Linked DNA regions of Homo sapiens: regions 1, 2 and 4 are each linked to region 3. Evidence: promoter capture Hi-C in 16 types of primary human blood cells and fetal thymus (Javierre and others, 2016). All regions are on one chromosome and are shown on one strand. Each heading gives the region's core, a stretch centred on a gene start or on the middle of the fragment in contact. The rest is flanking DNA. Distances are from core to core; before and after follow the strand shown.

Region 1 (4,792 bases), core at 293-2,792, 190 kb before region 3:
ATCTTTTCTACTGTCGTCTTGTAGTTCAGGAAAATGACTTTTCCCATCTGGAGGAGTCTTTGGATTATTTACAAGGCTCTTAAATTGAACAACAGTGACATCTCTATCAGAAGTTCTCTCTCCTTGTTTACAACTGTTGGTATCCAAAGGAGAACACTGCTCTTTTTGTTTCTCTTCCTCTGAAGATGAGTTCTTGATGGAATTACACTGACACTGGGGTACTCCTTCGTAAACCATGGAGAGCCAGCCCAATGCACAGCAGTGGATATCATCTTTCTCAGAGTCCAGTATCACAGAATCACGACTTTGTCCAGCTGCAGGTGCCTGCAGGTCACACTGGCTAACTACTTCTGTGATGGGCTCTTCTTTCTGAGGTTCTGCCAACTTGTCTACTACATAGGGTTGATCATCCTGTTCAGGAAATATTTCTTTCATTTGCTCTGAGCTTAATATTGTAATTTGTATTTGATCTGCTGGGTCTTTGGAGTCAGAACTGGTTTTATCAGCAGTTTGATCTTCTGAGGTCTGGTATGTAGTTTGCTGGCCCACAGAACCTTCACGTGTATTCACAGCCTCAATGCCATAAGGAAACTCTTTTAGAAGTTCTGACAGCTGGTCATGTAGGTATAAGACAGGTGCCTTATCACTGTGGATTTCATTTCTTGCAGGATCTTGGGGAGTATAGTTGCTGGATGCATCTATTTCCTGAGGGTAAATATCCTCCTGAATAGCAGCTGACGAGCACGTATCGTTAGCTGTGCTTTTTTCAGTGGCATGCTCCAAACTACTTTTCTCTAGAATAACTCTGTTTGTTTCAAGATTGTTAAAAGATGACTCTAAGGGTGGCTCTGACTTTGACTGATCACATATTTTATGTGAAACATCTGTGCACTGTACAGGTTTATCTTTTTGAAAACCAAAGTCTTTATTTTCAGTGGTATTATCTAATTGTTTTTCTGGTTCTCTGCTGCCAATCCCTTGCTGATTGGGTAGAGAAGGTTTCTGTGGCTCAACCATTTTCAAGGGAAGAGAGCTGAATATCTTTGCTATTTGGGAATTGTAAGAGGTATCACCTTCAACCAGAGAACAAATATTGTCAATCTGTAATGTATCACTACTCACAACAGTACTATTCCTTGACTCCTGTGAGATTTGCTGATCGTTCATAGGAGAATGGATAGCTGACTCTAATTTGTTATGCTTTCCTTGATTGACATTAGGTGTGACTTCTGAATTACCATTAGTTGACTCATTCTGCTTTTCCTTCTGAGTTAGTGGAAAAATCTTGGTTGATGTTGCTGTACTTGCTACTGGTCCACTAACATCAACTTTCAAAGCAGCAGTTGCCTTTGCATTTTCTGCCAATTGATTTTGTAAACTACAAACACTGCCTTCTTTAATAACGGGATACACTGTTTCAGGTAACACTGCAGGTGTTATTCCTTTGACAGACAATGTTTTGACCTCTGACAGAACTAACGGTGACACTACAGCTATCTGAAGTTCTGTTCCCTTTGTTATATTTATACCTGAAGACTCATAATTGTGCATTACCATCGACAAAGCTGTCTGCTGTGAGGGATTACTTATTTTATTCTGAGAATTTGAATTTCCCACAACTGAACAAGGACTCTTAACGTGGATGTTAGCAGGCTTTGAAATTCCAACTGCTGTTGTGTTTGTTCTGAGTTTATCACACTCCTTTTCTTTTGCAGTATCTGAAGGTTGCTTTTTCCACAGGGAAAGACAGGTTGCTAGCACTTCCATGGAACAGCTACTGTCACTTTTAGCAGGCATTCCTTTTGTTGAGGATTCTTGTCCACTGCAAAAGGAGTTGTCCAAAACCCTGCCACTTACATTAGAAGTACTTGGAGTTTCCATGTTCTTCAAATTCAGTTGGTTACCAGTCATTTGGGTATTTGGATTCATTTCACAACTGTCTGGTTTAGAATCCTGAATAGTTTGATTAGCATCTTTTAATACTGTCTTCTGAGTCTTACGTGCCTGTGAAAGCAAAGCGAGAAGTAGCATATTTTCATTTTGAATTTTTGATTTATATTCCTCAGTGGACATGGACTTGGGAACAGAAATTGTTTCACAAACTGCTGGTGAATTTTGCTCAACTTTGGTAACATTTTCTGATGAAAGCTGAGTATTCAATACTGCCTGGGTCATCTCAACAGCTGATGTCTTTGAAGTGAGAACTTTCACATCATGAGATGAGTCTGGCATTGGCCGCTTTTCAGAATAGACAGGATTTGGTAAAACAGAATCAACTTGGTTAAACCTTCTGCAATTGACTTCCTGAATGTCAGAATTCAACATACATTGAGTCTTATTTGTTTCTGCAGATTCCACTACTGTTGGTGTTTGTCTCTCTGCATTCTCTGGCATTACTGGAGTTATCTGGGGTCCAGACTGGATTTTGGCAGTTTGTTTTAGAGACAATTTAGAATTCTGAGCTGGTTCACTATAAGAAGTATTAGTCATTTTAATACAACCTGCTGCCATCAAAAGATCTTTATTGATTTTAATTTTCCTTGCAAGTTCTGAAAACTTCTGTTTTATCTCTACTAATGTTTTAATATCCCTTACTAGCTTTTCTTTTGCAACACTTGTGTCCAGTACTTGATTTGAAGTTGGATTGCAAGAATCCATTATTTTCTCTTCATTAGTTTGAGCAAGAGTCTGAACACCATCCACAGAAGATCTAATGGGACTGTTAAAAGGCTGTTTGCTGTTGGTATTTACTTTCAAGTTAGTGAAATTTCCAATTGTGCTGACATTTTCATTAGGGTTTTGCCACTGCTGTTGAAAGCTGGTCCTTATTTCAGATGACAGCATTTCTCGACTCTGAGGAACTTCCATAGACAAGTGTTTAGTAATATGCTGAGTACTTTGCAAAGGCTGGCTTCCATATCTACAGTTGTAAGGAGGAGGAGGAGGTCTTTTGTCAGTTTGCGTGGCATACTGCTGTGATGGTACAGCTGAGGTCTGCCTTGATGGTAAAGTTAATACAGAATTTAGAAGCTGACTATTTTTAACTTGCAATGATGTATGTGGTATAAAGTTTTGTTTTTGAATGGTAGAATCTGGTAAAAAGCTTTGTGGTGAGTAACGGTATAGCTTTGGAGGTGGTCTGTAATCTGGGTAAGTCAGTCCCTTAGATATACACTGTTGTGTCCAATCAACCTGTTGCTCTGAAAAAGACTGGTTAAGTCCCTGATTTCCTTGGTAAGCTACAGGAAGTCGTGTAGAATTAGAAGGGATCATCTGCATTTGCATAGAATAGGTATCTGATGTTATCAGTTGACTCTGTAGTGCCGGCATATTGGGTACGTTAGCTCCAAAATCAGTTTGATGAGATACAGTTGCCCCTATATGAGAATGCACAGGATTCCTCATTGGTGAGTTCAACCATACGTTTTGGGTAACTCCTGAAGACATCTGCAAATTGTGAGTTAGTTGTTTGGGTCCATTAACATTTGCATATGTTATTCTTTCTACTGAAGTGTGTGAGGCCACAACTGTCCCATTATGCATATCAGAAACAGAAATTTGTTGAGGATAATTTTGGATATTCAGCAGTGGCTGTGAAATTGGATTTGAATTACCGGGATACATGCATGCTTCTTGGTTACTTCCAGGATAGCTGAAAGAACTCTGAGATGTTGTGGTAATTTGGTTTATTAAAGACTGGTGCAAAAAAGGTGGCTGGCTTTTAGGATACAGTGGTGGTAATGTAGCACTCTTTGGTTTTTCATTCCAATTCATTGTCGGTTTGATATAGTAGCAGTGTATTACAAGTCAGTTATAAGTCAGTTACAAGTCAGTTGTCTGAATGTCAGGAATCTGTAAGAAATAAAGATATTTTATTAAAATGCTGTTTTGCCTAGATAGAATATCTAAGAAAATTAGTAGCTGACTGTCCATCCTAATTACTGAATCTTCAGAGCAGCCTCATCTTTAATTTGGGAAGAAGAGGAGCAATAGAGGATACAACAATAAATAAGGCAAGTGTCAATGAAATTTCTAACGTGTTTAACAGAAATTCATTCCACACAATGACAGCTAGCTTTTTGTTACATTTAAATGCCAATCACCTTCTGTTTTTACTTATTTTTAACAGACTTTCTTCTAAGTAATCCATGCTAACTGCATTTTTTAAAAAAGCTAACATGACAATAAAAATGAGAATTTAAAAAAAAAGGGAAGTTCAAACATATGGTTAAAAACATTCTCATTGTTCATTCGCAAAGTCTAAACTCCCCAGGGCTATTCAAGGTTACCTTAATGAACTCAGTAAATTTCTGGCATAAGGCCGGGTGCGGTGGCTCATGCCTGTAATCCTAGCACTTTGGGAGGCAGAGGCAGGTGGATCACCTGAGGCCAAGAGTTTGAGACCAGCCTGGCTAACATGCCAAACCCCATCTTTACTAAAAATACAAAAATTAGCGGGGTGTGGTGGTGCACACCTGTAATCCCAGCTACTCAGGAGGCTGATGCACAAGAATCACTTGAACCTGGGAGGTGGAGGATACAGTAAGCCAAGATCACACCACTGCACTCTAGTCTGGGTGACAGAGTGAAGACTCTGTTTCAAAAAAAAAAAAAAAAAAAAGGAAAAGAAAATTTCTGGCATAAGCAAACACTAATTCATAAATATCTTTTGTTATTCATAATGAACTCTGTATGCACATACCTGAGTCTATGCTACTAAGGTGACTTAAAGTGGGGGCCCCTAGATACCATCAGGATACAGCTGGTGGTCACCAGGAAAACCAAGTATTAG
Region 2 (4,625 bases), core at 1,100-3,599, 210 kb before region 3:
TTCCAGTAGTTATTTACCATTGCTTTTTGCCTGTCTGCACTATGCCAGTTTGCAGATGCTATGAAGTACTACCTTTGCTTTTCATTTAATCATGCCCCAGAATTTGCTCTTGTAAAGGGTGTGGTGTATTATATCACAGTATAGATAACTCAAAAGCTATCTATTTATTTACTTAATTTTTTATTGAGGCAGTGTCCTACTATGTTGTCCAGGCTGGTCTCAAGCTCCGATGCTCAAGGGATCCTCCCACTTCACCCTCCTGAGTAGCTGGGATTTTAAAGCCTCTTAAAAGAATTATTCTCATGTGCTTCTGGTAGCAAGATATGAGGTTGGCTTTATCACTGTCTCTTAGGGTCATCTCTAAGTGAGGCTATGTAATACTTCCAGCTGGAGCCAGCATACTGTGCAGACCAATTCATAAACCAGGACTTGTCTTGGTTTATTCCCATTGGTTTATATCCATTCGTGTCTTCTCTCATGAAGCCTTATATGTGGACTGAGGGAAAGCCAGAGAAACAGAAGGAAGAGGTGTTATGGAACCCCGAGCAAGCTACTTGATTTTTTTTTTTTTTTTTTTTTTGAGATGGAGTCTTGCTGTGTCGCCCACGCTGGAGTGCAGTGGCACGATCTCGGCTCACTGCCACCTCCGCCTCCCAGGTTCACGCCATTCTCCTGCCTCAGCCTCCCGAGTAGCTGGGACTACAGGCGCCCGCCACCATGCCCGGCTAATTTTTTTGTAGTTTTAGTAGAGACAGGGTTTCACTGGGTTAGCCAGGGTGGTCTCCATCTCCTGACCTCGTGATCCGCCCACCTCAGCCTCCCAAAGTGCTGGGATTACAGGCGTGAGCCACCGTGCCCGGCCGCTTGTATGTTTTAATTGTGTCCTCAGGAACTGCTTGGGCTAGTCTTACATATACATTTTCATTTAACAATGAAATGCTGCTGCATGAGTCAAATTTTATGGTTTTTGGAATCAGATGACATCAAATTCATCAACAGTTCAGGTTTTACAATTTGTGTTCAAATGGAATGTACTTGTCAGAAAAGGTCATAGGGGGTTTACTAGGATTCTCCTAAAAGCAAGAGGTTTCACACACAGTAGAAATTCCCTGTACCATTGGGCCTGCTGGGCCATTAGGCCCAAGGGGCAGGGCAGCTTGCACCACAGCCTGGTCCTGCTGTGGAGCCTTTGCTTGCTTGAGGCCTCACATAAAATTAGAGCTGTGTGGGCCGGGTGCGGTGGCTCACACCTGTAATCCCAGCACTTTGGGAGGCCGAGGCGGGCAGATCACGAACTCAGGAGGTCGAGACCATCCTGGCTAACATGGTGAAACCCCGTCTCTACTAAAAAATACAAAAAAATTAGCTGGGTGTGGTGGCGGGTGCCTGTAGCCCCAGCTACTCAGGAGGCCAAGGCAGGAGAATGGCGTGAACCCAGGAGGCGGAGCTTGCAGTGAGCTGAGATGGGGCCACTGCACTCCAGCCTGGGCGAGAGAGCGAGACTCCATCTCAAAAAAAAAAGAAATTAGAGCTGTGTGTGTGTTACCTGATAAATTGCTTAGGGTGACACGTCCATAAGGTGGCATGTCCATAGATGGTGTATGTTCCCTCCAAACTTCACACAGGCTCATCAAACATTTCTCTTTGTGGTAGATGGTACAATATACACAAGACTACAATCAGACCCTAAAAACCTTACGAATGTGGTCAATCATGAATTTTTATTCAAGATTTCCTTCCCATCCCGTCATGCATGTGTTTTATTAAGTCTTGTAGGATGTTTATTATTTTCTGCTTGTCAGGTCCAATTAGCATAATATCATCAAAGAAACGGACCAACGTTGTGTGGGCTATCAAGATGACAAAATCCACTCTATTATAACAGAAAGCAGGATACAGCCAGGCATGGTGGCTTATGCTTGTAATCCAGCACTTTGGGAAGCTGACATGGGAGGATTGCTTGAGCCTGACCAGACTGGGCAACACAGGGAGACCTCATTTCTCTAAAAAATAAAAAATTATCCAAGGATGGTGGTGCACGCCTGCAGTCCCAGCTACTCAGGAGGCTGAGGTGGGAGGATCACTTGAGCCCAGAAGGTCAAGGCTGCAGTGAGCTGTGACCACACCATTGCACTCGAGTCTGGGTGGCACAGCAAGACCGTGTCTCCAAAAAATAAAAACAACAACGAAAGAATCACTAGACATTTATATTTTATTTTAAAAAAGGTAGAATATTCGAAGGCAGATATCTAAGCTTAAAGTAGCTACAGCCAAGTATACTAAACGTTAATGGTCCATGTCCTAGAGGTTGAAAGATTCATAATCAGGAGAATACAAGGCAACCAGGTGCTGAGTCAGCCCACAGGGGAATGCAGATAAGACCTCAGGCAGGCTTTAACAGGGTCTTAAAGATAAAATAACTATCCTGTCTAGGCACAAGCTTATAGGAATCCCAATGACAGAGATACACATTTTTATTTTTTTGAGACAGAGTCTCACTCTCTCGCCCAGGCTGGAGGGCAGTGGCGCGATCTTGGCTCATTGCAAGCTCTGCCTCCCGGGTTCACACCATTCTCCTGCCTCAGCCTCCCGAGTAGCTGGGGCTACAGGCGCCCACCACCACACCTGGCTAATTTTTTTTTTTTTTACATTTTTTAGTAGAGACGGGGTTTCACCATATGAGCCAGGATGGTCTCCATCTTCTGACCTCATGATCCGCCTGTCTCAGCCTCCCAAAGTGCTGGGATTGAGCCACCGTGCCCAGCCGTGCCTGGCTAATTTTTGTATTTTTAGTAGACACAAGGTTTTGCCATGTTGGCCAGGCTGGTCTCAAAACTCCTGACCTCAGGTAATCTACCCACCTCAGCCTCCCAAAGTGCTGGGGTTACAGGCGTAAGCCACGCCACCCAGCCTCCAGAAACTTTTAAAAAGCACATTTCCTAATATTTATGCCCTTGGATAACCCCCTTGAGTATGGGCTGGAATTCTGTGACTCACTTCTAGCAAATAGAAAGTAGCAAAATTGACACATCATTTCAGAGATTAGGTTAGAGACTGACTTTGGGACCGGGCATAGCGGCTCACCCCTGTAATCCCAACACTTCGAGAGGCTGAGGTGGGCAGATTGCTTGAGCCCAGGAGTTCACCATCCTGGGCAACATGGCGAAACCCTATTATCTACAAAAAAACTCCCAAAATACAAAAATTAGCAGGCCAGTGGCATGGGCCTGTGGTCCCAGCTACTTGTGCGGCTAGAGTGGGAGGACTGTCCAAGCCCAGGAGGCAGGGGTTGCAGTGAGCCAAGATCGCACCACTGCACCCCAGCCTGGGTGAGAGAGACCCTATCTCCAAAAAAGTATTTATTTTTACAACCTTAAAAACTGAAGAATACCAAGATATATTTATCAATATCGATTCCATGAGAACTTGAAACAAATTTTGAAGATACTTCATTTTAAAATGATGAACCCATTACATTCATATAATTTTTTTTTTTTGAGACTGAGTCTCACTGTCTCCCAGGCTGGAGTGCAGTGGCGCGCAGTCTCAGCTCACTACAACCTCTGCCTCAGACTCCTGAGCAGCTGAGACTACAGGCACGTGCCATCACACCCAGTTAACTTTTGTATTTTTGTTTGTTTTTTTGAGACAGTCTCACTCTGTCGCCCAGGCTGGAGTGCAGTGGCTTGATCTTGACTCACTGCAACCTCTGCCTCCTGAGTAGCTGGGACTACAGGCCCAAGCCACCACGCCCAGCTAATTTTTGTATTTTTAGTAGAGACGGGGTTTCACCATGTTGGCCAGGCTGGTCTCGAACTCCTGACCTCGTGATTCACCAGCCTTGGCCTCCCAAAGTGCTGGGATTACAGGCATGAGCCACCGAGCCCACCAATGTTTGTATTTTTAGTAGGGACAGGGTTTCACCATTTTGGCCAGGCTAGTCTCAAACCTCTGACCTTAGGTGATCCACCCAGCTCGGCCTCCCAAAGTGTTGGGATTACAGGCGTGAGCCACTGCACCCAGCCAAATAAATGTTTATGAAAAATACTTACCAGGAGAATGAGAAAAGATTGGCAGTTTTATATTTTTACAAATCTGACTTAAAAATATATACAGTACATAATACTTGACAATGATAAATGACTGTTACTGGTTTGTGTTTAGTATGTTATGCTTTTTATGTAGGTTAATTTATTCCTACTTATTTTTTTTTTAGACGAAGTCTCACTCTGTCGCCAGGCTGGAGTGTAGTGGTGTGATAGCTCGCTGCAACCTCCGCCTCCTGGGTTCAAGTGATCCTTCTACCTCAGCCTCCCGAGTAGCTGGGACTACAGGCATACACCACCATGCCCAGCTAATTTTTTGTACTTTTAGTAGAGATGGGGTTTCACCATGTTGGCCAGAATGGTCTCAATCTCCTGACCTCGTGATTCGCCTGCCTCGGCCTCTCAAAGTGTTGGGATTACAGGCGTGAGCCACTGTGCCCAGCTTCCTACTTTTTAAAAAACTAAAAAATATTTTTAAATTTAAATAAATTAAAAAATAGGCTTGGGTGCGGTGGCTCACACCTGTTGTCCCAGCTACTCGGGAGGCTGAAGCAGGAGAATTGCCTGAACCTGGGAGGC
Region 3 (5,074 bases), core at 1,969-4,468:
AGGATTGCTTGAGCCCAGGAGTTTGGGGCTGCTGCAGTGAGCCGAGATCACACCATTGCACTTTAGCCTGAGTGACAGAATGAGACCCTGTCTCAAAAAAAAAAAAAAGAAAAGAAGAAGAAGAAGAAGAAATTGAGGCTCAAGGAGGTTAGGGTGAATTGCTCAAAGCCATTCTGATGTGACCGACACCTAGAGTGAACATATGTCCTGATGTGTCCAGGACAGCCTCAGTTTATGCCTGCCTATTGTCCTGGTGTAATTATTAATAGCACCTTTTCACTCCCCGGAGTATCCTGGTTGGATAGTAAATTATATGGTCACTCTACCAAAACCTGTTTCTTTCATTCACTTAAATCCAATCTTTTATTTCATTACTGCCTTATTTCCTCCACTTAGGCAGCTTCAGGATGATTATAACAGCTGAAAAGGCTGGCTTCAGACCATGGTATCACTTCTATGAGAGAGGACATTTCAAGTTGCAAACAAACAATTCAACCAGTGACTTTTAAATTTGAAAACTACCAGTATAGTACGGCAGTGAAGAGATCAGGGTCTGAATCTCCATTAGCATAGACATTATTCAAAATGTCAGGCCTGAGAAGGAGCTAAAAAACGGCCTGTCTTGGGGGAAGAAACGGCAAGAATTTTATCGAACTTCAGCTGGAGTGGGAGAGGGGACTGTCAGCCAGAATGCGGCTAGTTTGGGGAAGAGTTGGTCAAAGAGATTCTTGAAAGAGGGAGGAATTGTTGTTGCAGATGAGCAGCCACTGTTTGGGCACTTTGGATTGATCAGCCTGGACAGGAGGAACAGTTAGGGGCTAAGATCCTGCACAGGAAGAGGTGGAAGGAACAACTACAGGCAAAGGGGACCTGCAGGGGAAAATGTTCCATGTGGAAAATGCTAGGACTTCAGGGTCTCTTAGGTTAGTTAACTCTTCTGAGCCTCATTTTCCTCATCTGTAAAATGAGGATGTTAACAGTTTAAGGTTGATTCTGAGGATGGAATGTACTCAGTACATAAGTGTTCAGCAAACAGTAGTAGCTCTTATTGTTTGAGTCTCTTCCCCGCCTTGTGCCCCTAGTGTAGTAGTAAGGGTACGGATTTTCTTTTTTTTGTTTGTTTTTGTTTTTGTTTTTGGAGGAGTCTCGCTCAGTCGCCCAGGCTGAAGTGCAGTGGCGCGATCTCCGCTCACTGCAAGCTCCGCCTCCCGGGTTCACGTCATTCTCCTGCCTCAGCCTCCCGAGTAGCTGGGACCACAGGCGCCTGCTACCATGCCCACCTATTTTTTTTTGTATTTTTAGTAGAGACGGCGTTTCACCGTGTTAGCCAGGATGGTCTCCATCTCCTGACCTCGTGATCCGCCCGCCTCGGCCTCCCAAAGTGCTGGGATTACAGGCGTGAGCCACCGCCCGGCTGGGTACGGATTTTCTTTACGCTGTATATAAAAGTCTGAGAAACTATCAATTGCTTATAATAAAGAATGAAAACTCCAAAGGCATCTGGGGTGAGGTTGAGGGTCTGCACAGAGATTATGGGGGAAGGGGACGTCCAAAGCTGTCATTGGATTCAGGCACTCAACAGATTGGAACACAGTGTAGAGATTTATGGTAGTGTGAAGGTGCTTTATTTGTTATGAATTACTCAGAGATTTTACTATATTTTAACCTGGGGCGGGGAACCCTTCCTTTTTTTGCCCTTTTGAAAATAAGGTAGATTTCTTCAGATGTGGAAAGTATCAATGGTCAATCCAATAGCTTTTCGTTATTTTATTTTTTTATTTTTGGAGGCAAAGTCTCACTCTGTTACCCTGGCTGGAGTGCAGTAGTGCAATCTGGGCTCATTGCAACATTTGCCTCCTAGGTTCAAGCAAGTCTCCTGCCTCAGCCTCCCGAGTAGCTGGGACTACAGGCGTATGCCACCACGCTTGGCTAATTTTTGTATTTTTAGTAGAGACAGGTTTTGCCATGTTGGCCAGGCTCGTCTCAAACTCCTGACCTCGTGATCCACCTGCCTCGGCCTCCCAGTGCTACCATTACAGGCGGAGCCACCACACCTGGCTCACTTTGTGGCATATTTCTAGAAGTTAAAAAACTCACCTGACAAAAGAGATACTTTGTGGCCAGGCACGGTGGCTCACTCCTGTAATCCCAGCACTTTGGGAGGCTGAAGTGGGTGGATCACTTCACGTCAGGAGTTCGAGACCAGCCTGGCGAAAATGGTAAAACCCCCGTCTCTACTAAAAATACAAAAATTAGCCAGGTGTGGTGGCAGGCACCTGTAATCCCAGCTACTTGGGAGGCTGAGACAGGAGAATTGCTTGAACCTGGGAGGTGGAGGTTTCAGCGAGACGAGATCGTGCCATTGCACTCCAGCCTGGGTGAGGACAGTGAAACTCCATCTCCCAAAAAACAAAAAAAAAAAAAAAAAAGAGAGAGAGAGAGAGAAACTTTATGATTTACTCCATGGAACAAATATCATATAGAACTGTAACATTTAAAAGTCAGATTTCTGTTTCTAAACTTTAGGTTTATACCTCTTGGCAGATGACTAGATGATTCTTTCCCCATTCCAAGAGTAACAGATATTCAGCCAACTTGTGTGTGTGTTTATCACATGTGATTCCACATTTCAGTTTGTTTCTCTATATTTTTTGTATTTTAAATTGGACAAGTATTACTTTTATAATAAGAAAAAAGATAATTACTAAAAATAAATGAGAAATACATATACATGTAGAATTTGCATAGTGTCAAGTAAATGATAAGGGTAGAAAGAGTGCAGAGAAAAAAAGGATGAAAACGAAGGTGGCTGAAGAATGCTTTGTGACGGAGGTGGGATTGAAATGAGCTTTGAAAGGCCGGGTGCAGTGGCTCACACCTGTAATCCCAGTAATTTGGGAGGCTGCGGCGGGCGGATCACCTGAGGTCAGGAGTTTGAGACCAGCCTGGCCAACATGGTGAAACTCCGTCTCTACTAAAAATACAAAAATTAACCAGGTGTGGTGGCAGGCGCCTGTAATCCCAGCTACTCTGGAGGCTGAGGCAGGAGAATCGCTCGAACCTGGGAGGTGGAGGTTGTAGTGAACCGAAATCACGCCACTGCACTCCAGCCTGGGCAACAAAGCGAGACTCCGTCTCAAAAAACAAAACAACAACAAAAAACGAAACACCGAAATGGGCTTTGAAGAATGGAAGGGATGCAGATAAAAGAGAGGAGGGCGCAGAGCGGTTTGGTCGTTCGTTGGACCAGTGTCGGTTCTTCGCTCGCGACTGCGGCTCTTCCTCGGGCAGCGGAAGCAGCGCGGAGGTCGGAGAAGTGGCCTAAAACTTCGGCGTTGGGTGAAAGAAAATGGCCCGAACCAAGCAGACTGCTCGTAAATCCACCGGTGGGAAAGCCCCCCGCAAACAGCTGGCCACGAAAGCTGCCAGGAAAAGCACCCCCTCTACCTGCGGGGTGAAGCCTCATCGCTACAGGCCTGGGACCGTGGCGCTTCGAGAGATTCGTCGTTATCAGAAGTCGACCGAGCTGCTCATCCGGAAGCTGCCCTTCCAGAGGTTGGTGAGGGAGATCGCGCAGGATTTCAACACTGACCTGAGGTTTCAGAGCGCAGCCGTCGGTGCGCTGCAGGAGGCTAGCGAAGCGTACCTGGTGGGTCTGTTGGAAGATACTAACCTGTGTGCCATCCACGCTAAGAGAGTCACCATCATGCCCAAAGACATCCAGTTGGCTCGCCGGATACGGGGAGAGAGAGCTTAAGTGAAGGCAGTTTTTATGGCATTTTGTAGTAAATTCTGTAAAATACTTTGGTTTAATTGGTGACTTTTTTTGTAAGAAATTGTTTATATGTTGCATTTGTACTTAAGTCATTCCATCTTTCACTCAGGATGAATGCGAAAAGTGACTGTTTACAGACCTCAGTGATGTCAGCACTGTTGCTCAGGAGTGACAAGTTGTTAATATGCAAAACGGATGCGTGATATTTCTTGCTTCTCATGATGCATGTTTCTGTATGTTAATGACTTGTTGGGTAGCTATTAAGGTACTAGAATTGATAAATGTGTACAACAGGGTCCTTTTGCAATAAAACTGGTTATGACTTGATCCAAGTGTTTAACAATTGGGGCTGTTAAGTCTGACCATACATCACTGTGATAGAATGTAGGCTTTTTCAAGGGTGAAGATACAAACCTTAACCACAGTGTAACTTATAGTTTCCTTTAAAAAAAAAAAATTAAACCTGGCAGCTATAGAATACAATATGTGCATTTATAATAGCTATTTTATATATTGTAGTGTCAACATTTTCAAATTAAATGTTTTACATTCACAAGTGGTGGGGAGTCTTGTCATTAAGGTGTGTGTAATTTAGAGTCCAGTTGGTTTTCTTCTGACTGCACTTGTTCTCATAGTAGTAAAATGCTATGTGCATTTATACCTTGCATAAATCCTCATTCTACCACATGTTAACTAACCCTCTAGCTGATAATGGAAACACTAACTGGGGGATTTTATTTATAAGGGCTCTAGAAAAAAATATGAGTTATTCACACCAGCATCATCTGTTAACTAATATTCTGAACTAGTGCAGCTTTTCATTGTGTTGTGTGGTTGGTCTCATAACTAGGTTGAGTTTTCTCCTCTGCTAAGAGGAAACAGTACTGAAGTTCTTTTTCTTGTGGCATTTGTATTATAAAAACTTGGTGTAGGGGAGGAGCACAAAGCTCTAGCCCACTGAACCTCTGCCGGTTAAGATGGTGTTAGGTTAGGTTACATCTGGTTACTGTCCTGGGAAAATCATTTTTATAGAGATGGCCTTCCAAGTGGTTTTAAAATTTATCTTATTGAAGTTTTTAGGTCAATTATGTATGTTGACTAAATTTACAAATAAACTTGTTTATCCAAAAAAAAAAAAAGAGAGGAAAAGAATCAGAAATATTGGAGAGTAGAAATGCAACAGAAGAGAACTATAAAGTTTATGTTGGGGGAAAACAATTAGTTTGTCTCAAGTGTAGTATTTACGCAAAGGAGAAAACTTTAGGGATGTAGGGCCCACATTGTAAAGAGCTTGGAATT
Region 4 (5,007 bases), core at 2,080-4,579, 150 kb before region 3:
TCATTGTCATGCCATTCAGACCTTATTGTTCTTTTACTTTTTAGAGATGGAGCCTTGCTATGTTGCCCAGGCTGGTCTTGAACTCCTGGGCTCAGCAAACCTTCCATCTCAGCCTCCTGCATAGCTGGGACTACAGGCAAAAGCCACTGTGCCCAGCTCAGCCCTCATTCTTGAATGAAAACACCACTTTTCTGCCTCTAGATTTGAGGCAGGAAAATAGGGTCTAGAGGCAGGGAACCTAAGGCCGATTGCTGACTGGATATCAGAGACTACTCCCTTTACAACCCCTCCTTTTTCTGCATGGCAGTTGAAAAATGAAGGTACAGCCAGGTGCGGTGGCTCACACCTGTAATCCCAACACTTTGGGAGGCTGAAGCTGGCGGATCACCTGAGGTTGGGAGTTTGAGACCAGCCTGACCAACATGGAGAAACCCCGTCTCTACTAAAAAGGCAAAATTAGCCGGGCATGGTGGTGCATGCCTGTAATCCCAGCTACTCAGGAGGCTGAGGCAGGAGAATGGCTTGAACCTGGGAGGTGGATGTTGCAGTGAGCTAAGATGTCACCATTGCACTCCAGCCTGGGCAACAAGAGCAAAACTCCCTCTCAAAAAAAAAAAAAAAAAAAAAAAAGGAAACGTGAAGGTACTTCTGATTGGTCCCCTCCCGCATCCTATCAGACTGGTTCTTGGCCACTACTTTATTTGCATAGAACCAACGGGAAACCTCTAGAGGGTATTTAAACCCCAGAAAATTCTGTAACCGATACTGTGAACCACTTGCTGGAGATGGCTCCAACCCTGGGGAGTGTACTTTCATTTAAAATAAATCTCTGCTTTCACTGTCTTGCTTTGTGTGTTTGTCCAATTCTTTGTTTAAAATGCCAAGAACTGGGACAGCTACCCTCAACTGGTAACATATTTTGGTGAGCCAGCCAGGAGGTAAGCCCAAAGTTTGGGATTTATTTTTCTCTTTTTCCTCTTTCTCTTTCTCTCTTCCTTTCCAATTTGGGATCCTTGGTGGACAGCGCCTAAGCATGGAGGCAACAGCATGTTTCTGGCCAGGGCCACTCTCCAGTGAAACTGAAAGGTTTCCATGTGGAAGCGCCTGACCGCCACCAACTGGCTTGAGACCAAGTCCTTTACTTTTTCGGTCTTTCAGCGGCCATTTTCTAGTAGACTGTTGGTAATTGAAGGCAACTGGCTGGGGCCAGTCTCTGGTGTAACCTGAAGGCCAAGGAGTGAATGGGGATGGCTGCCTTGCCTGGAACGGGGAAGGACTCTTTTCTATCTTTTCTGGTTATAGTCCCTGATCCCTATGTGTGACGTAATTGGCAGTGGAAGCTCACCCGGGGCTAACTCATACATGTTTCAGGTGACTTAAACCTTCTTTCCTTATGCTGAATTCTTTCCTTCCCTACTCGACTGGCTAAGGACAAGTCAGAGGGCTTGGGCATGTTGTAGATGGTCTGTGTGAGTCATGGGGGTGGATTCATAAGAGGGAATTTATATACAATTTAATCTTGCCTAAATGTAGAGAGTTAAATAATTGTTTTAAGTGGGATAGGAAAAAAAATCCAAAGGTTTGACTACAAATTAATTCTAGAAGTCAAGGCCTTCATCCAGGGACAAGAGGGAAAGCTCATAGTGGGCCATCAGTGGTGGAGGGAACCATTCCAAAGTGGTGCTAGCACCCATGTGAGTTTAGCGACATCTGACAGGCTAAGATGGGGCCCTTAAGGGTATGCCCCCTGGGAACCCCAATCAGGGGCCAGAATTTTTCCAGGGGGATACCCCAGCTAAAATTTCGGTTACTTAATGAGCCCTCAACTTTTCAAAGTTCTCTTCTCTTTTCTAGACCACTATGGGCAACTCTCCATCAATTCCACCTGATTCCCCACTTGGCTGCATCCTCTGGGATTGAAATCAATTTGACCCTGACAATCTAAAGAGAAAACGTATGATTTTTGTTTCTCCAATACTGTTTGTCCCCATTATAAGCTCCCCAGCCTGGAACAATGGGTGGTCAATAGTAGCCTTAATTATGACACCATCCTGCAATTAGACCTGTTTTTTAAAAGGCAGGGCAAATGGTCAGAAATCCCATATGTATAGGCCTTCATGGCCCTATACCAAAACCTAATAATTCCCCCACAGGGAAGTCCAAAGGCAGAACTAGATATTATAGATGACCCCCTTTTACAAGGGCCACCTGTCTCTCAGGGTGAACAGCAACTGCCTCCATATAGCCGCTTGCCAAGTGTTCCTGAGGCTAAAACCCAAACACTGGGGACCCTACTCAGTCCCCCTCACACTCGGAGGGGAACAGCACATTCAACTCTCCCTCCAGCCCTGCTACCCCTTAGGAAGTAGCAGAAGCCAAGGGGCCAGTCCTAGTGCAGGTCCCCTTCTCTATAACTAATATACAATAACATAAGGGAAAGTGAGGAAGCTGTTCTGAGAATCCCAGGAAATTCATAGATGGGCTCCAGACTTTGACCTTAGCCTTTGATCTCTCATGGAGGGACGCTCAATTCATTCTAGCAATCTGTTACACCTCCTTTGAAAAGGAACACATCCTTGAGGCTGCCCGCCAGGAAGCAGACAATTTATTTGCCCGAAACCCTCAGGGCAATCACCCAGGACCAGACACAGTCCCTACTACTGATCCTAACTGGGACTATAACACACCCATGGGAATGAACAACTGGGCTAAATTTCTTTAGGCTCTCCTTGGAGGAATGAGAAAGGGAATAACTAAAGCAGTAAATTATGATAAAGTAAGGGAGGTTACACAGGGAAAGGAGGAAAATTCAGCCATGTTTCATGGCAGGCTGGAGGAAGCTTTTAACAAATACACTAATCTGGACCCTTCTTCTCCCAAAGGCAAAATAGGAATGGCACAGCATTTCATTAGCCAATCTGCCCCAGCCGTTAGACATAAGCTCCAAAAACTACAGATGGGGCCACAAACTAATCAAAATCAGCTTCTTGATACCACCTTTATGGTTTATAACAATCGTGACCTGGTGGAAGGAAAAAGGGAGCAAAATAAAACGGCAAGCAGGCTGGGCACAGTGGATCACACCCGTAATTCCAGCACTTTGGGAGGCCGAGGCAGGCGGATCACCTGAGGTTGGGAGTTCAAGACCAGCCTGACCGACATGGAGTAACCCCGTCTCTACTAAAAATACAAAATTAGCTAAGCCTGCTGGCACATGCCTGTAATCTCAGCTACTCAGGAGACTGAGGCAGGAGAATCACTTGAACCCAGGAGGCGGAGGTTGCGGTGAGCCAAGATTGTGCCATTGCACTCCAGCCTGGGCAAGAAAAGTGAAACTCTGTCTCAAAAAAAAAAAAAAAAAGAAAAGAAAAGAAAAATGGCAAGCCAAAATTATGGAAGCCATCATTGGCGATGCTGTGAATGCCCAAAGAGTGTCCAAAGGAAACCAGAAGAGCCATAAGGATAATGCCAGCAAGGGCTCTTGCTTCAAATGCAAGAAAGCTGGGCATTGTGCAAAGAATTGTACTAAGCATATGCCAGGCCCTTGCCAAAAACGTGAGGGTACTGGTTATGACCCCTGGCACTGGAGGATTGACTGCCCCAGTTCCCACTGAGGGGCTCAGTCAGTCAAAGCTCTAGCAGTACAAAAGGAGGAATTAGATGAGGAGCCCCGGGTAACTCTGGCTGTGATGGGCCCCCAAATTCAGTTTCTTTTTGATACAGGAGCAAATTAGTCTGTCCTTACTGCTTGTGCAGGAAAACCTTCCTCCCAGTCAATGAGTGTTATGGGAATGGAAGGAAGGCCACAAACAAGCTTCTTCACTCCTCCTTTGATTTGTCAATTTGAGAAACAATTTTTCCAACAGGAATTTCTAGTAGTACCAAGCTGCCCAGTCCTCCTGTTGGGAAGAGATATTATGGTTAAAATAGGGGCACTACTACAATTTAAGCATCACCCAGTGAAATTGCTAATAGTCAAAAATACAATGTCCCAGACCACATTAATAAACAGGCTAACCTGCTAGCATGGTATACTGGGAAACCGGGGAAGGCTAAAACAAAAGTGCCAGTCAAAACACAGCTTAAAGACCCCAGCTATTTTCCCAATTGAAAATAATACCAAGCCAGGGCTGGGCGCAGTGGCTTATGGCTGTAATCTAAGCACTTTGGGAGGCGGAGGTGGGTGGATCAAGAGGTCAAGAGATCGAGACCATCCTGGCCAACATGGTGAAACCCCATCTGTACTAAAAACACAAAACTTAGCTGGGTGTGGTGGTGCACACCTGTAGTCCCAGCTACTCAAGAGGCTGAGGCAGGAGAATCACTTGAGCCGAGGAGGCGGAGGTTGCAGTGAGCCGAGATTACGCCACTGCATTCCAGCCTGGTGACAGAGTGAGACTCTGTCTCAAAACAACAACAACAACTACAAAAAAATACCCAGCCAGGCATGGAGTCTCATGCCTGTAATCCCAGCACTTTGGGAGGCCGAGGTAAGTGGATCACCTGAGGTCAGGAGTTTGAGACCAGCCTGGCCAACATAGTAAAACCCCATCTGTACTAAAAATACAAAAATTAGCTGGGCATGGTGGCACATGCCTGTAATCCCGGCTACTCAGGAGGCTGAGGCACAAGAATTGCTTGAACCCAGGAGGTGAAGGTTGCAGTAAGCCGAGATTGTGCCACTGCACTCCAGCTTGGGCAACAGAGTGAGACTCTGTCTCAAAAACAAAAACAAAAATAAGAAACCAATTAAGCTGGAAGCAAGAAAAGGCTTCATAGTTAAAATAGTTGAGCTATCCAGAGCTGAGATATTACTTACCCATGGGCTCTGAAAACCCTTCAATTCTCCTTGCAACATCCCCATCTTACCTGTTCTAAAGGCTTTGAGGGAATACCAGCTAGCACAGGATCTCAGAATAATTAATGAGGCCATTATCCCTGGCCATCCATTGGTGGTGGATCCATATATACCCTCTTGGCTCAGGTGCCAGGGGATGCAAAATAGTT

Evidence for each region. Contacts are between HindIII fragments. The CHiCAGO score rates a contact against its expected background, and 5 or more counts as called.
Region 1: a contact is called between a fragment that was not itself captured here and the fragment with the promoter of H3-5 in region 3, in 4 of 17 cell types (total B cells, non-activated CD4 T cells, activated CD4 T cells and 1 more). The highest score is 6.4, in total B cells.
Region 2: a contact is called between a fragment that was not itself captured here and the fragment with the promoter of H3-5 in region 3, in 4 of 17 cell types (non-activated CD4 T cells, total CD8 T cells, activated CD4 T cells and 1 more). The highest score is 8.5, in non-activated CD4 T cells.
Region 4: a fragment that was not itself captured here is called in contact with the fragment with the promoter of H3-5 in region 3 in 4 of 17 cell types (non-activated CD4 T cells, activated CD4 T cells, naive CD8 T cells and 1 more); the score reaches 8.3 in non-activated CD4 T cells.

Annotation. Positions count from the first base shown.
Region 1 is chr12:31,979,938-31,984,729 of GRCh38, reverse strand. It overlaps RESF1 (retroelement silencing factor 1), which reads right to left. Exons shown (of 6, transcript NM_018169.4): 4 at 1-3,852. The coding sequence starts at 3,774. Among named protein-coding and RNA genes, the nearest start is that of RESF1, 23 kb to the right of the region's middle. The HindIII fragment of the contact is 3,126 bases long and covers 1-3,105 here.
Region 2 is chr12:31,998,274-32,002,898 of GRCh38, reverse strand. No RefSeq gene overlaps it. Among named protein-coding and RNA genes, the nearest start is that of RESF1, 41 kb to the right of the region's middle. The HindIII fragment of the contact is 186 bases long and covers 2,257-2,442 here.
Region 3 is chr12:31,790,442-31,795,515 of GRCh38, reverse strand. It overlaps H3-5 (H3.5 histone), which reads left to right and starts at 3,218. Exons shown (of 1, transcript NM_001013699.3): 1 at 3,218-4,331. The coding sequence starts at 3,350. The coding sequence ends at 3,757. The HindIII fragment of the contact is 13,966 bases long and covers 1-5,074 here.
Region 4 is chr12:31,940,909-31,945,915 of GRCh38, reverse strand. No RefSeq gene overlaps it. Among named protein-coding and RNA genes, the nearest start is that of RESF1, 16 kb to the left of the region's middle. The HindIII fragment of the contact is 974 bases long and covers 2,843-3,816 here.